Linked DNA regions of Homo sapiens: region 2 is linked to region 1. The links are contacts of gene promoters, found by promoter capture Hi-C in human tissues and cell types (Jung and others, 2019). All regions are on one chromosome and are shown on one strand. Each heading gives the region's core, a stretch centred on a gene start or on the middle of the fragment in contact. The rest is flanking DNA. Distances are from core to core; before and after follow the strand shown. Region 1 holds the start of MLANA (melan-A). Region 2 has its middle 16 kb from the start of RANBP6.

Region 1 (2,847 bases), core at 208-2,707:
CAAACTTATTTTTCATTGGCAAAAATGTCTTCATTGCAATGGTTCCTATTTTGATTAATAAAGATGTGTTTGAGGCTGGGCGCGGTGGCTCATGCCTGTAATCCCAGCACTTTGGGAGGCTGAGGCAGGTGGATCATGAGGTCAGGAGATCGAGACCATCCTGGCCAACATGGTGAAACCCTGTCTCTACTAAAAATACAAAAATTTGCCAGGTGTGGTGGCGTGCACCTGTAGTCCCAGCTACTCAGGAGGCTGAGGCAGGAGAATTGCTTGAACCTGGGAGGCAGAGGTTGTAGTGAGCTGAGATCCTGCCACTGCACTCCAGCCTGGGCGACAGAGTGAGTCTCCATCTCAGAAAAAAAAAATGTGTTTGAGCCTAGTTATAATGATTTAAAATTCATGGTCCGACACCGCAATTACTTTTGCACCAACCTAATTGATGTCTAAGTAGGTCATATTCTACCTGCAAAAAGAAAATTTCATCTATCCCTTTCACATAGATGGAAACCCACTATCTCCAGTGGACAGTTAACACCAAAGGCATCACAGAGAACTCATGGAGCTCAGCTGAGGAGGTTTCAGGGATTTTTCTATTTCCTTTTCTTGATTATGAGAGTCTGGGACTAGATGCTCTCCAGACCTGTGCCTAAAGACTCTTCAACCCTTTGAGATGGAGATGAGGGAGGGAATAGGGAACCCAGTTTAGTTTGGATTTCAGATCCTTTTGTGGGTCATAAGCGTGATGATTGGGTTTCCATGTTCACGTGTGAGATATGCCTCCCTCAAACCTTGTTACAATGACATGGGCACCTTACCTATCTGACATGAGAAAAACAAATGTGGATTTCAGATAAACAAAAAATAACTCTTTTAGTGTATATGTCCCATAGAATATGTGGACATATTTATCCTAAAAATATTGTATGGGACATAGTTGTATTAAGAAACTGTTCATTGTTTATCTGAAGTTCAAATTTAACTGGGCATCCTCCTCAGCTGAGCTCCATGAGTTCTCTGTGATGCCTTTGGTGTTAACTGTCCACTGGAGATAGTGGGTTTCCATCTATGTGAAAGGGATAGATGAAATTTTCTTTTTGCAGGTAGAATATGACCTACTTAGACATCAATTAGGTTGGTGCAAAAGTAATTGTGGTGTCGGACCATGAATTTTAAATCATTATAACTAGGCTCATGTCATATTTTATGTGACATGGCAATCCTATGGAGGAGGGACCAACATTTAAAATAAATGGCTTCCCTAGGATAGAGCACTGGGACTGGGGAAAACAGAGGCCACAGTCAGCTGTGACTTTTTGAAGGAAGGAATAAAGTTGGTTTCTTTCATGCCAATTTAGCAATTACAGACGACCCCGTCAGAAATCTAAACCCGTGACTATCATGGGACTCAAAACCAGGAAAAAAAATAAGTCAAAACGATTAAGAGCCAGAGAAGCAGTCTTCATACACGCGGCCAGCCAGCAGACAGAGGACTCTCATTAAGGAAGGTAAGAGCGTTGCCTTCTCGCCATAATCATAGTCCTCTTCTCCCAGAATAGGATTTGGGAAATTCTGGCTAAGTCCTCTGCCTACCCTCATTGCCCCGCTGATGTGTGACATCAACAGAATTTCTCCGCAACGTTTGTCAGTCTCCAACCTCAGAGGGCTCACAAAGCCTCCTCCTGAATCCTCTCTCAGTCCTCCAACACTACCAAGAAGAAAAGCAATTATTCAGGATGGCATCTTGCTGGGGAGAAGCAGCCTCCCTGAGGTAGATGTGTTCTCCTGTCACTTAAAGAACCACTTCTCCTGGTCTGAGTAGTAAGAGGCGCATTTGCTGTTGCTGCACCATTTGCCAAGGCTCTGAGTTTGAGGTATGGGATGTATTAAAACAATTTAATGAAGAATTAAGATTCCATTCTGTCATTTTGAACACAGGGTTCAGTCCTATATTATTCACTTGAGAGGACTGGTGAGTTTGACTTTCATTTCTTTTTTACAACTGGGAAGGGCAAATTACACATAAAATGTCCCAGTGGAAAGGGGTCATGTGTCGAAATCCCCACTCTTCTGTCTCACCTCTCCCTGTTGTTTTAAACTGGGGCTCATTAATATAATTCTATGGGGATCACACCTTTGAAATTCATGAGGACAGTAAGAGAGCAGAAAAATACACAATAATAAGGAAAGGAGCTTCCATTATTGGTTTTTAATGAGCGTACTTGAATTACGGCCACTGCAGTTTATGGATATTTTTTGTTGTTCATTTGTATGTGTTATAGTTAGAAAAAAAAAGAATCCTAGCCAAGGGACTTGAACCAGAGAGAAGCAGAAATTGACTTAAGTAGGAAGGGAAACACATTGTTAGATAAAGTCAGGTCCTGGGCTTCCTCGGCTTGTTTTGGGTGGAGTGCCTGGGGACAGGCTGAAGCCCCTGTGTGGGGTGGTTTCCTTTGCTGAAAAGCTGGGCTGGAAGATGTTGTGCTCAGTGCTCAACCTCATGCACCCTCGCGAGGCACAGGCAACGGGTGCTCTGGGAAACACACGTTATGTATCATAGCCTCTGTTTGTCTGTGGGATTGATATCCAACAATAACTTTGGAGAAAAATAACTCCTCTAATTTTGTTAGCCACAGCCCTGGGCCAGGGAAGGTGGAGAATCAGTGAAAATGCATTTTGTTTGTTTCTCTAGAAGTTTATGGTGCAGAGTCAAATTGAAGGCAAATGAGGAATATTTTTTCACCAAATAATAACTCAACTTGCAAGTCTTTTTTGCTTTTGTTTGTAGTTTCTTCTTTGAACTTAATTTTCAGTTAGTAGGAGGGGTTAGAAACCTGAGCTATTGCTAAA
Region 2 (2,847 bases), core at 142-2,641, 140 kb after region 1:
GATAGTAGTTTAGCAAAAAATGATTTTAGAATATAGAAATATTATCCCAGTATGCTAATTTGTGCTAATATATTTTCTAATCAAGGTTTATAATTTATAATCTAAGGTCAGTAAAATATAAAGAAAGGCAATAATGTAATTTATTACATTAGCAGGAAAAATAGTAAGAATCATGTGAACATAGCAATAGATACCAAAAAGCATTTAATCAAATTAAAAGTCAATGAAAATGAAATATAAAGGGTGTTTTATAAATGAAGAGTCTTAGAATGAATTGTAAAATTCATTTAAAATAATTTCTTTAAAAATGAATTTTTAAAAGTCCTGTATTTAAAAACAAACCATCATAAATAATAGAAAAACACTGCAGCACTGCTGTTCGAAGTCTGATCCCCTGACCACCTGAAACAGGATCACCTAGAACATTTGTTGAAAATGCAAATCTCTAGCTTCCACCCTGAGCTACTGAAAAAATTTTTGAATCTGAATTTTTAACTAGCATCTCAGGTTCTCAGTTGATTCTTAGAACCACTGTAGTATAGTCATTCTTTTTTTTTTTTTTTAAGAGATGGGGTTGCCTAGGCTGGTCTTGAAGTCTTGGGCTCAAGCAATCCACCCTCCTTGGCCTCCCAAAGTGCTGGGATTACAGGCGTGAGCCACCATGCCCGGCCATTCTTTTATAATACTTTTACATTTTGAAAATTAAAGTAACAGTGAGCATGTTAAAAATCAAATAGTACAGCACAGAATGTAATGAAAAGCAGAGGTTCCTGGTTCCATATCTTCCAACCCTGAGTCCTCTCCTCAAAATCAGCTGCTTTTAAACTTTTCTGTTTTTACATTTTCTGGTGGTTATTTCCATAACTCTGATTAATAGTCATTGTCTTTTAAAACAGTAACAAAATGAGACACACTCCTGTTACCATTCGAGGAAAGACTGTGCTAGAAGTGCTGTCAAAAGTTCTTTAGATAGAACAGAGAAGGAGACAGTCTAATCATAGGAAAATAAAAATCACTGTCACTTTTTTTTAAATTTTTTTTTGTTTTTTGAGATGGAGTTTTACTTTTGTTGCCCAGGCTGAAGTGCAATGGCATGATCTTGGCTCACTGCAGCCTCCGCCTCCCAGGTTCAAGGATTCTCCTGCCTCAGCCTCCCGAGTAGCTGGGATTACAGGTGCCCGAGACAGAGTTGCACCATGTTGGCCAGGCTGGTATCTAACTCCTGACCTCGTGATCTGCCCATCTCGGCCTCCCAAAGTGCTGGGATTACAGGCGTGAGCCACCACACCTGGCCTTGTTGTCACTTTTTAATGTGACATGTATGTTTAGCTAAAAGCACTAGAGATAACAGTTAGATAAAAATATAGAGGATAAGGGCCAGGCATGGTGGCTTACGCTTGTAATCCTAGCACTTTGGGAGGCTGAAGTGGGCAGATCATGAGGTCAGGAGATGGAGACCATCCTGGCTAACACGGTGAAATCCTGTCTCTACTAAAAATACAAAAAAAAAAAAAAAATTAGCCAGGCGTGGGTGGTGGGCACCTGTAGTCCCAGCTACTTGGGAGGCTGAGGCAGGAGAATGGTGTGAACCCGGGAGGTGGAGCTTGCAGTGAGCCAAGATCGCGCCACTGCACTCCAGCCTGGGCAACAGAGCGAGACTCCGTCTCAAAAAAAAGAAAAAAAATATATAGATAGATAGAGAGAGAGAGGATAAGGTAAATACTCAAAAATCGATAGCATTTCCTATTTTCTATTGACCCAGGCTTAGGGAATACAATAATTTTTTTTGTTGTTGTTCCACTCTGTCGCCAGGCTGGAGTGCAGTGGCGTGATCTCGCCTCACTGCAACCTCCGCATCCCAGGTTCAAGCTATTCTCTTGCCTCAGCCTCCCAAGTAGCTGGAACTACAGGTGAGCACCACCATGCCCAGCTAATTTTTGTATTTTTGGTACAGGTGGGGTTTCATTATGTTGGCCAGGGTGGTCTCGATCTCTTGTCCTCCTGATCCACCTGCCTTGGCCTCCCAAAGTAAAATAATTTTATGAAGTACAATGAAACAAATACTTGGATAACTGAATTTGGGGGAAAGAAAAGGTTATTTTGAAATTTTAGGAAGAAAATAAATGAGTAAAAGAGTCATAATTTGCTTCTAATGTTAAAGGCTAAATGCAATAGAAATAACACTTTTCATATTAATGTACCAGTTAAAGCACTATTCTTTAATAAAAAGAGCCTTTTATTAAAGGCTCTTTAGGATTTTATAGAAGTTGATGACACACTGATAAAGAAATTACTTTGAAAAATAAAAGGTCAGACACCAAAAATATTAATGTGTTTATTTTACTTATTTATTTTTAAAGACAGTCTTACTCTATTGCCCAGGCTGGAGTGCAATGGCACAATCAGAGCTCACTGTAGCTTCCAACTCTGGGCTCAAATGATCCTCCCACTTCAGCCTCCTGAGTAGCTGAGACTGTAGGCATGCACCACCACACTTGGCTAAATTATGTTTAATTTTTATGCTAGAGTACCAATATCAGACACTGTTTTACAAAATGGAAACAATCCAAATCAGTAGTTATTAAATCAAATCCATGGAGAATGTAATAAAATAGATTTCAAAAGTAAATCCCAACTATCATAAGAATTTAGTATGTGACAAGTCAAAAGCAAAACAATTGCTAGTCCTGGCATGAAGGATTTGGATGAGGTGGAAGTCTGAGATATCTCTCTTGCTGTCAGCTGGATTCCATCAGGTGACAGGTTTCCTATGTAATCTGGGAGATGTGTCACAAGTGGCAATTAGAGATATATATTTTGGCAATTGGAGATATCTAGTGTTTTGTG

Evidence for each region. Contacts are between HindIII fragments. The study calls those that stand out against the background at their distance.
Region 2: a fragment that was not itself captured here is called in contact with the fragment with the promoter of MLANA in region 1 in 2 of the 25 tissues and cell types used here (heart left ventricle and mesenchymal stem cells).

The regions. Positions count from the first base shown.
Region 1 is chr9:5,889,432-5,892,278 of GRCh38, forward strand. It overlaps MLANA (melan-A), which reads left to right and starts at 1,458. Exons shown (of 5, transcript NM_005511.2): 1 at 1,458-1,505. LOC124902341 (small nucleolar RNA U13) reads left to right here and starts at 719; the gene lies at 719-825. It also overlaps a transcript of BRD10 not described here. The HindIII fragment of the contact is 14,558 bases long and covers 1-2,847 here.
Region 2 is chr9:6,030,609-6,033,455 of GRCh38, forward strand. No RefSeq gene overlaps it. Among named protein-coding and RNA genes, the nearest start is that of RANBP6, 16 kb to the left of the region's middle. The HindIII fragment of the contact is 4,860 bases long and covers 1-2,847 here.